2 separate regions of the Homo sapiens genome follow, and region 1 is linked to region 2. The links are contacts of gene promoters, found by promoter capture Hi-C in human tissues and cell types (Jung and others, 2019). All regions are on one chromosome and are shown on one strand. Each heading gives the region's core, a stretch centred on a gene start or on the middle of the fragment in contact. The rest is flanking DNA. Distances are from core to core; before and after follow the strand shown. Region 1 overlaps RNF41 (ring finger protein 41). Region 2 holds the start of SUOX (sulfite oxidase).

The links. The method cuts DNA at HindIII sites, captures the fragments that hold promoters and counts their contacts. A contact is called where the count stands out against the background at its distance.
Region 1: a fragment that was not itself captured here is called in contact with the fragment with the promoter of SUOX in region 2 in 1 of the 25 tissues and cell types used here (pancreas).

What each region holds. Positions count from the first base shown.
Region 1 is chr12:56,208,527-56,213,628 of GRCh38, reverse strand. It overlaps RNF41 (ring finger protein 41), which reads left to right. Exons shown (of 7, transcript NM_005785.4): 4 at 3,061-3,332. Among named protein-coding and RNA genes, the nearest start is that of RNF41, 11 kb to the left of the region's middle. The HindIII fragment of the contact is 6,706 bases long and covers 446-5,102 here.
Region 2 is chr12:55,993,238-55,998,819 of GRCh38, reverse strand. SUOX (sulfite oxidase) reads right to left here and starts at 1,544. Exons shown (of 5, transcript NM_001032386.2): 1 at 1,481-1,544; 2 at 1,097-1,205. RAB5B (RAB5B, member RAS oncogene family) reads right to left here. Exons shown (of 6, transcript NM_002868.4): 6 at 2,137-5,582. RefSeq lists a silencer at 1,495-1,684 and an enhancer at 1,270-1,770. The HindIII fragment of the contact is 9,188 bases long and covers 1-5,582 here.

The DNA of each region.
Region 1 (5,102 bases), core at 2,549-5,048, 210 kb before region 2:
TTCCATCTTCCTGTCCGTGATTGAACTTCTGGACTCTCCTAATAAGTTCTCTCTGCATTTTTATGATGTAGTGCTTCAGGTAATCAGCCAGGCTCCCTGCAGGCCTCTTCTACCTGCCTACTGTCTAACAAATAGGAAGGCTGGGCACAGTGGCTCACACCTGTAATCCCAGCACTTTGGGAGGCCAAGGTGGGTGGATCACGAGTTCAAGAGCCATCCTGGCCAACATGGTGAAACCCCGTCTCTACTAAAAATACAAAAATTAGCTGGGCGTGGTGGCACACACCTGTAGTCCCAGCTACTCAGGAGGCTAGACAGGAGAATTGCTTGAACCCGGGAGTAGGAGGTTGCAGTGAGCCGAGATTGTGCCACTGCACTCCAGCCTGGGTGACAGAGTGAGACTCCATCTCAAAAAAAAAAAAACAAAAACAAATAGGAAGTGGGGAACTGTATGTACTGACCTATTTTTTTCCTGGGATCTACTGAAAAGACCAGCTTTTGATACAGCCATGCACTCTGCATTTTGATGTGAAAGCTGCCACCTTCAATAGGTCATTTCTCTGCCAGCCTTGCCAGACCAGAGTCAGTTGTATCATCCTGGGGCAAGTATGAGGAGAAGCTCACGATTACCAGGCAAGTACAATGAGTGAGGTGAATCCTTAAGAGTTGTATTCATGGGACAGCATCCTCCAGGATCCTTATTGCCCTCATTCTGTAAATACCAATTAATCCTTTCTCTTTCCTGGCTATCTAGAGATTATCACATTTTCCAAACCAGGACACTAGGCAATGAGGTTTCATGGCCCTTCCCCCATTCACTGCTCACCTAACTCCCAGGGGCTCCCCTTGAGCCTTTATTTTTTCTCCCAGTACTACTCCAAAAGGAGTACTGATGCCTTGAGCTGAATAAAATTCAGACTGCATTCCAATGGCAACCAACTCTGGACCTGTCTTCTTTCTAGGCCTTTGCAGTCTGCTGCCATTAGAGGCATATTAGATGGGTGTGGAGCAAGTCATCAAGTAGTAGTGTCAAGAGGTCACAGGGTGTGTCAGGTTCCCTCCTCACCCTGGCAGGGCCTTGTCTGTTTTCTGGCACTATCATTTTAGGCAAGTCACTTATGGAAAGGTGAGTCGTAGTTGGTGACAGTCTAGTCAGAAGCCACCCATCTACCTCCAGGCTTTATCTTCTGAGGAGCAGAGCAGGCAACCCTCATGATGCCAGGTTCCCAGACACATTTCTAAGGTTAGAAGGCTCCTGCTAGGGATGCTGATTTCCCCACATCATAATTATTTATTTTTTGAATAGGTGAAAAATGAACATAGTTCAGAAATCAAAAGGTATACAGTGAGAATTCTCACTTCTGTCTTTATTACTGTGCACCTAATTCCCCCACAGATAACTATTTTTATTAGTTTATTTGGTATCCTTCCAGTGTGTCTTAAGGCAGATATAAGCAAATATGAATAGATGTCTGCATATATATGTATTTGTGTATACATATGTATATATGAATATATCTGTGTTTCACCATGTTGGCCAGTCTGGTCTTGAACTGATCTCAAGTGATCTGCCTGCCTTGGCCTCCCAAAGTGCTGGGATTACAGGCATGAGCCACCATGCCCGGCCTTATTTAGCTTTGTTTTGTTTTGTTTTTTTGAGATGGAGTCTCACACTTTAGCCTAGGCTGGAGTGCAGTGGCATGATCTTGGCTCACTGCAAGCTCTGCCTCCCAGGTTCACGCCATTCTTCTGCCTCAGCCTCCTAAATAGCTGAGACTACAGGCACCCGCCACCACGCCCGGCTAATTTTTTGTATTTTTAGTAGAGACAGGGTTTCGCTATGTTAGCCAGGATGGTCTCAATCTCCTGACCTCATTATCCGCCCACCTCAGCCTCCCAAAGTGCTGGGATTACAGGCGCCATCCACCATGCCTGGCCTAGCTTTCTTACATTGAATTTTTGCCAGTAAATATGTCCTCCTCCTCTCTAAATCTATCATCTGAATTATCCTTCAAGACCCATATCAAATTCTGTCCTCTTCATAAATACCTGCCGTGATTGAGCTAGCCTGAAAAGACCTCACCCTCCTCTGGACATTTTTGGCAATTATTGTGTATGCAATCCAGATGGCAATTAATAATTGGCTGCCTTGTGTCATCTGTCCTATTGTCCTAGAATATCATTTGTATCTCTTATTGTTATATAACTTTTTACTTGTTTGTCTTGTTTCACAACTCATTTTTAATCTTGAGCACAGGGAATATATATATATATATTTATTTATTTATTTTGAAACAGGTTCTGGCTCTGTCACCCAGGCTGGAGTGCAGTGGTGCAGTCTTGGTTCACTGCAACCTCCGCCTTATGGGCTCAAGCCATCCTCCATCCTCCCACCTCAGCCTCCTGGCTAGCTGGGACTATAGGCACGTGCCACCAGGCCCAGCTTTTTTTTTTCGAGATGTATTGCCCAGGCTAGAGTGCAGTGGTGTGATCTTGGCTCACTGCAACCTCCACCTCCTGGGTTCAAGCTATTCTCCTGCCTTAGCCTCCTGAGTAGCTGTGATTACAGGCATGCGCCACCACCCCTGGCTAATTTTTTTATTTTTAGTAGAGACAGGGTTTCACCATGTCGGTCAGGCTGGTCTTGAACTCCTGACCTCATGATCCGCCTGCCTCGGCCTCCCAAAGTGCTGAGATTACAGGCGTGAGCCACTGCGCCCGGCCTATGCCCGGCTAATTTTTGTAATTTTTGTAGAGATGGGGTTTTGTCATGTTGTCTGGGATGGTCTCAAACTCCTGAGGTCAAGCAGTGTGCCTGCCTTAGCCTCCCAAAGTGCTGGGATTACAGGCATGAGCCACCGTGCCCAGCAGGAAACGTATCTTAAGCCTGTCCCCTACAATGCCTTGCCCGTAGTAGATCTATACTTTGCTGTGACCCAGTGGACCTCTTGTCGTAGAGGCTGCTCAAAGGCTTGATTGGCTTTGTAGAGTTATATCATATCCAGGCTCTTAGGTCCTGCTAATTCCCTTGCGCCCCTTTTGCCTTGTTCTCTCTTCTAGGCACCTCATTGTGAACATGCTTTCTGCAACGCCTGCATCACCCAGTGGTTCTCTCAGCAACAGACATGTCCAGTGGACCGTAGTGTTGTGACGGTCGCCCATCTGCGCCCAGTACCTCGGATCATGCGGAACATGTTGTCAAAGCTGCAGATTGCCTGTGACAACGCTGTGTTCGGCTGTAGTGCCGTTGTCCGGCTTGACAACCTCATGTCTCACCTCAGCGACTGTGAGCACAACCCGAAGCGGCCTGTGACCTGTGAACAGGGCTGTGGGTGAGATTTGTTCCCTTCTGCCCCACATGGATAAGGGCCATCTCATTTATGCCCCTGTCTCTGGCTGCCCTCCTCACTAGCTGAGGAGGTCTCTTTGGCATGTTGGCAAGGAGTATTCTTAGCCTCCTTGGCTTCCTGCTCTAAGATCTTACTTTCTTGCTGCTTTTCCAACTATAATCATTTTGCTCTTGCTTTAACAAAAGAAGGGGCACAGCAATTTAGTAAATTTGTGTAATAACATTAAAGCTTGATTGACTCTATTCTTCCCTTTCAGTCCAATACTACTTTCCGTTTGTCAGGTTGACTGCTATAATTGCCAGCCTTCTCATATTTCCTCTTGCCCTATTTTTTTATTTCTGTGGGTTATGAAATATTCGACTAAATGTTGATAGCTGAAGGGCATGTTAGCTCACACCTGTAATCCTAGCACTTTGGGAGGCCGAAGTGGGCAAGTCACTTCAGGCCAGGAGTTCAAGACCAACCTGGCCAACATGGCAAAACCTTGTCTCTACTAAAAATACAAAAATTAGCCAGGTGTGGGGCCGGGCGCGGTGGCTCACGCCTGTAATCCCAGCACTTTGGGAGGCCAAGGCGGGTGGATCACGAGGTCAGGAGATTGAGACCATCCTGGCTAACACATTGAAACCCCGTCTCTACTAAAAATACAAAAAACTAGCCAGGCGTGGTGGCAGGCACCTGTAGTCCCAGCTACTTGGGAGGCTGAGGCAGGAGAACGGCATGAACCTGGGACGGGGAGCTTGCAGTGAGCAGAGATTGAGCCACTGCACTCCAGCCTGGGCAACAGAGCGAGACTCCGTCTCAAAAAAAAAAAAAAAAAATTAGCCAAGTGTGGTGGTGCTCGCCTGTAATCCCAGCTACTCAGGAGGCTGAGGCATGAGAATCACTTAAAACCAGAGGTAGAGGTTGTAGTGAGCTGAGATCGCGCCATTGCACTCCAGCCTGGGTGACAGAATGAGACTCTGTTCCCCCTAACTAAAAAATAAAAAGAATGTTGATAGCTGGGGCTGTGAATATAGGGCTTCTCTGAAGGAATAAGTGCACAGGCAGAATCTGTAGGAGGAAAAGGAGAGCTGTGCAGTAGATAAAAACAGTGTGTCAAAATAAATAAATAGGCCCCGTGCGGTGGCTCACGCCTGTAATCCCAGCACTTTGGGAGGACGAGGCGGGCGGATCACCTGAGGTCAGGAGTTCAAGACCAGCGTGGCCAACATGGTGAAACCCCATCTCTACTAAAAATATAAAAATTAGCCAGGTGTGGTGGTGGGCACCTGTAATCCCAGCTACTCGGGAGGCTGAGGCACAAGAATTACTTGAACCCATGAGGCGGAGGTTGCAGTGAGCTGAGACCGTGCCATTGCACTCCAGCCTGGGTGACAAGAGTGAAACTTGGTCTCGAAAAAAAAAAAAAAAGGCCAGGCGCGGTGGCTCACGCCTGTAATCCCAACACTTTGGAAGGCCGAGGGGGGCAGATCACGTGAGGCCAGGAGTTTGAGACCAGCCTGGCTAACATGGAGAAACCCCATTTCTACTAAAAATACAAAAAGTTAGCCGGCCATGGTGGCGCGCACCTGTAATCCCAGCTACTCGGGAGGCTGAGGCAGGAGAATCGCTTGAACCTGGGAGGCAGAGGTTGCGCTGAGCTGAGATCATGCCATCGCACTCCAGTTTGGGCAACAAGAGCGAAACTCCGTGTCAAAAAAAATAATAAAAATACAAAATAAAATAAATTTAAAAAATAGATAAAACACT
Region 2 (5,582 bases), core at 295-2,794:
CTCAAAAAAAAAAAAAGCCTGGGCGATGGAGCAAGTGTCGATCATGGCTCACTGAAGCTTCAACCTCTTGGGCTCAAGCCATCCTCCTGCCTTAGCCTCCCCAGCAGCTGGGACTACAAGTGTGTGTCACCAAGCCTGGCTAATTTTTCTGTAGACATGGGAGTCTATGTTGTCAGGGCTGGTCTTGAACTCCTGGCCTCTTGCTGCCTTAGCCCCCAAAGTGCTGGGATTACAGGCATGAGCCACTGTCCGGCTTCCCCTCCCCTCCCCCTGCCCCTGACAGGGTCTTGCTCTGCCCAGGCTGGAGTGCAGTGGCGTGATCTCAGCTCACTATAGCATCAAACTTCTGGGCTCAAGCCATCCTCCTGCCTCAACCTCCTGAGTAGCGGGGACCACAGGCGTGTGCCACCATGCATGGTCTTTTTTTTTTTTTTTTTGTAGAGATGAGGTCTTACTATGTTGCCCAGGCTGGTCTCAAACTCCTGGGTTCAAGTGATCCTTCAAACTTGGTCTCACAAAGTCCTGGGATTATTACAGGCATGAGCCACCACTCCCAGCCTCAAAATATCTTATTGTACTGTGTTCAACTATTTTCCAAGCGGTTGACCATAGCTAACTGAAACTCAGGAAAAGGAAACTTTGGATAAGGGGAGACTGCTGTAATAACATTGTCTTTGAAGGCTTTTCAGTCCCCAACTCTCCCTCCATTCACCCTAAAAAAAATTGAACCCAGCTGGGAACTGGACCCCAACCTAGGGTCCCGGACCACCTCAATCTTCTCTGTGCCACTGTAGTGAGCTCAGCAAATTGAGGAGTTAATGGCCAGAGTGTCAGGGGCAGGCTGGAGAAGGAAGGTAATTTTTCTGCTCTCTGCCCTGCAAGTTTCTTCCTCAAATTGCTGAACAGAGAGCACTGACCCAGCAGGGCCAAAGTGAGGAGGGGTGACAAATGTCTAAACTGCTGATGAGATGCTGGAGACCAATGTGCTGGGGTGGGTGGGTCGTGGGTAGGGAGGAAAGGAAACCTAGAGATGGGAATAGGAGCAGTCTTCACCTTGCCCCTGGGCCATGGGACCATTACTCTCTCTGCCACCTACCTCAATGCCAGCAGCCTGTTTGTACTAGACCAGAGCAGTGCAGGTAGGGCTGACTCGCAGGTGAACTCAGTGAGCCCAGAATCCCAGGTTTGGGAGGGACAGCCTTTTGCTGTAATACAGAAATGCCACCCGTTGGTGCAGGTGATGACCCCTCACTCCCCATGGGCACGTTAGGTAGGAACATACGTCCGGCATCCAGGCACAAAAGGGTCTTGCGGCAACACCCCGCGATCTCAAGAGCACCCAGACAGAAGGAGTGGAGGCAGGTACTGATAGTTTTGTTGCCCTTGAGGTTCGGAGCACAGCTGGACACCAAGGCCCCCTCCGCTGCCCAGCTCAGCAGCCCTTCCTCCCCAGCTTCTTTACCACCCCCAGTCTCCTTACCGGGTCCAGTGTCTTCAGCACTGCAATTTTACCAGCCCAGCTCTGCGAGTTCTCGAGAAGGGGCGGGGCCAGCGCCGTTATGTCCGGCTGCAGTAAGTGACCTCTCACTCCCCTCAGCTTATCCCTCAGCCATTGGCTGGAAGCGGGTGGCTCAACCATTGGCTGGAACCCGCCTCCTGGAGCCGAGACAGGCAGGTTGCTAAGAAGCCTGGGAGAAGAGGCTGGCTCTTTTTGCTGTCACTCTCGCCAACAGTCCGGAGTCCATTATACCCCTGGTGTGCAAAGAATGGGACCCTTGTGCACCAGGGCTGTATGTCCGGAGCTCGGGCAGTGTGGAAGGTGACAAGGAATCCAAAAGTTGGGCTGACAGGTGGGAGATTTTGAGACACCCCTGCCGCCCCTCCCTGGAGGAGGCCTCGGGATCCAGTCCGGTTTTCCCCGGCTGTGATCTCCACTTTAAACCCAGGGTAGACCTACCTCTATCTACTCTGTTGCAACTACAACTACCCTGTTTATCTTTTAGGGAAAGCAAAGTCAATCGCTTAGTTCTCGTATTCCAGGAATGATAACAGAAATGCCTAAAATAGTGGTTCCAAGAATTTGAGATTCCTTGGGCTAGTCGAATTTCTCCCCAAACAAAAATGAAACAACAACACTGAATAGCCGTCTTTTATTTTGCGTAGAAAAAAAAAATAATAATCGCCCCTTGGTGGCACACGCCTGTAGTCCCAGTACTCGGGAGGCTGAGGCGGGAGGATCGCTTAAGCCCAGGAGTTCGAGGTTGCACTGAGCCAAGATCGCGGCACTGCACTCCAGCCTGGACAACAGAGCAAGACCCCATCTCTTAAAAAACAAACTGCCCCTTAACAAGAGCAATGGCAGCTTAACACCCCGAAGTATGAAGGTTGTAGTCTCTTATCTCAAAGTAAGGGGCATAAATATAATACATTTCCTATTACCCTTTTGTCATTTGATGCAGGACAAAATTTATCAAACCTAGTCCCCCAATCTGGACAAATGTATCCATACACTGCCCTCTAGAGGCCGGACGGTGGAGCTGCAATTTTAATCAGTTTAAGTGAAGGTGTTCACCTTTAATTTTGAAAGATCATTTCCTTTCCTTTCGGCTCTCCAACTAGAGCTTTTACCAGGAATCAGGGAACGGGGGTGGGGGGTATTACCAAGAGATATAAGGTAAGGGAACCGACAGTGAAAAGTTGGCAAGTTGGCTTTGGCTCTTAAGTGTTTGGAAATGGAAAGGATTTCAATCTGTATACAATCAAATCACTGAAGAAGGCTAATGCCCAACCTATCCTACCAGTTGTTAAAAAAAAAATATATATATATATATATATGTATATATATATGGAGAGAGAGAGAGTGAGAGAGAGAGAGAGAGGGAGAAAGAGGGAGAGAGAGAGAAAGCGAGCTTCAACCTAAAAAAAAAAAAGTCTCAGCCAAAGGAAGATACAGAGAAGTCAGTTAGGGACTATCTAAAAGCCTCCTTCCTAATAGTGTCATCTACTTTTGTGTGACACACATACTTTACATAATTGACCTTAATCTTCAGCTTTTACTTTACAGATGAAGAAACGAGGCGGAAGGCACTAACTAACTTGATCAAGGCCACAGCTGGTTAAGTTGACAGAGACAGGCCTAGAATGTCAGATTTGTCTGGCACCAGTCCTCTTTCCTATCCACCTTCAGATTCTTTGGAATTTAAAGCCTACTGCAACCACACATAATCCTATTTCATTTCCCTTCCCTCGACCTTTAGACTGTGGTGGACTGAAGGGTTTGAAGTACACTAGGAGTCAAGAGCAGATCCAGAGGAAATTTTCCCGTTGAGGTGGAAGCTACAAGAAAACTAACTCAGTGATGTTTTTCAACCTTTGGGTCATGGACCCCTTTGAGAAACATATAGAAATGGATCCTAGAAATATGCACATACGGCCGGGCGCAGTGGCTCACGCCCGTAATCCCAGCACTTTGGGAGGCCAAGGTGGGTGGATCACGAGGTCAGGAGTTCAAGACCAGCCTGACCAACATGGTGAAACCCCGTCTCTACTAAAAATACAAAAATTAGCTGGGTGTGTTGGTGCGTGCCTGTAATCCTAGCTACTCAGGAGGCTGAGGCAGGAGAATCACTTGAACTCAGGAGGCGGAGATTGCTGTGAGCCAAGATCGTGCCACTGTACTCCAGGCTAGCGACAGAGACTCCGTCTCAATTAAAAAAAAAAAAAGAAATATGCACATACATTTTTGTATACTACTTCAAATAGCACCCCTCTCTCTAATCTGATCAGTGGGCCCAAAGATCCACAGACCATACCCTACACATATACATTCTGTTAAGAGGGCCTAAAAAGATATAATAGGGTTTGATTTGATGAACAATCTAGTGGCCTTAGAAGAGGGGTGATTAAATAGCAATAGAAGGGCTATTTTCTAAACTAGATGTTTAAGAAAAGATTAAAGGGAATAAAGATGTATCAAGATGCAGGGAAAGGTGTGTTTCTGATTCAGTAGAACATTACTGGGTATCCTTTCTTCCAAATTCCTAGTACCTGACAAATAGCAAAAATAATAATAATAATAACAATAAAATAAAAAAAAGCAACACTCCAATGCCCTTTTCTTTTTTTCCTTTTTTTACTTACATTAAATACATCGGTAAATCAGCAGTCGCATTCTGTTACCACGATTGTTATGTTGGGAGAGGAAGAAAGGCAAATGCTTTCTCAGAAGCAAAACAAAAACAAAAAACCACAACACCCCCCCTTAAAAAAACTGACCAGAAGAAAAAAATGAGCTGGGAAATAAACAAAAGAAAACTAAGATCCCCAAGCCCAACAGAGCTCAAAGGAAGGCAGAAGAGGTGGTAGGAAGTAGAGGGAAGGCAGCCGATAGGCCCAGAAGCTAAGGCCAAATCCTGTTCCTATGGGGGTGGGGGGAGGGAGAAGCCTGGGGAAGTGGTTTCCCAGGCCCAAGATAATGAAACATCTTCACTCCTGCTCCAAGGGGGAAAGCTGCACAGAGAAAGAACTTCATTTCTAGAAGACTTTGGAAAGCCATCCTAGTTCTTCCACTTGTAAAAAGGATGCACTGGGTGCTATGGGGGGCCAGTGGCTTCTGGGAAAGGAAGGGGGAAATGTGTGTGTTTCAGGGCCATGGGAACTAAGGCTGCCCCTGGAAAAGGAAGGGAATTGAGGCCTAAGTGGAAGAACCTAAGCTGGGTCCTTCAGAATCTCAGCTTCATAGATTTCTCAGCTGTTCTGGGATAGAAGGCAGTCTGCAAGCCAAAAGGGCAGGAAGGTTCCAATCCTAGGTCACTGTGACCTTTCCTTTCTTTCTTTCCCAAAACTCCGGGCTGGAACAAGGAACTTAAAGTTCTCTTTTGCCTTGATGGCTTCTCAGAGACATCTTAAAACACCTGATGAAGGATATGAAGAGAGACTAGAGATTTAGAAAGGACCAAGGTCCTCTGATAATATGAGCCAGTTGTAAGGTACCTTCAGTGCCGGTCATTCCCTCTCCACAGGAACAGGTGGTATGATACGAGGGCACCACAGGAGGCCTCTGTGGTACTAGCCCCTATTGGTACATGGATTAAACCACTGGTTGCATGATGGGGAGGGATGGGGGGATTAAGGATGGAGGGACTAAATTCAAGATATTAACAAAGGAACAAAGAAACAGGGCCTGATGGGAGGCAGAGGATAGAACAGACTGTACAGTGGGAATAAAGATCATACCTATTTACAAGGAAGTAGAAAAGACATGGTAATGGATATCAAATTGAGTGTGAAACCTGGGAAAGGACAGAAAACTCCTCCCTTTTGCCTGACCTCCTTTTTACTCCCCTACCTTGGCCTGTGCTATCCTGAGACACTCCTCAATTGCTCAATTAATTCTCCAGGAAAGGCAAACCTATAGTCAATAGTTAGCTTGGCAAGAATATAGGTTAATAATTAGAGTTGGAGGAAGCTAACAGTGGAGATAGGACTTGAGTAGCTGCCACTGGTAGTTTTATCTATAACCTCTCCTCGAACCTCGCATTAACCTCAGATTTCATTGAATTAAAAAGAAGGTGGGAGGGCAA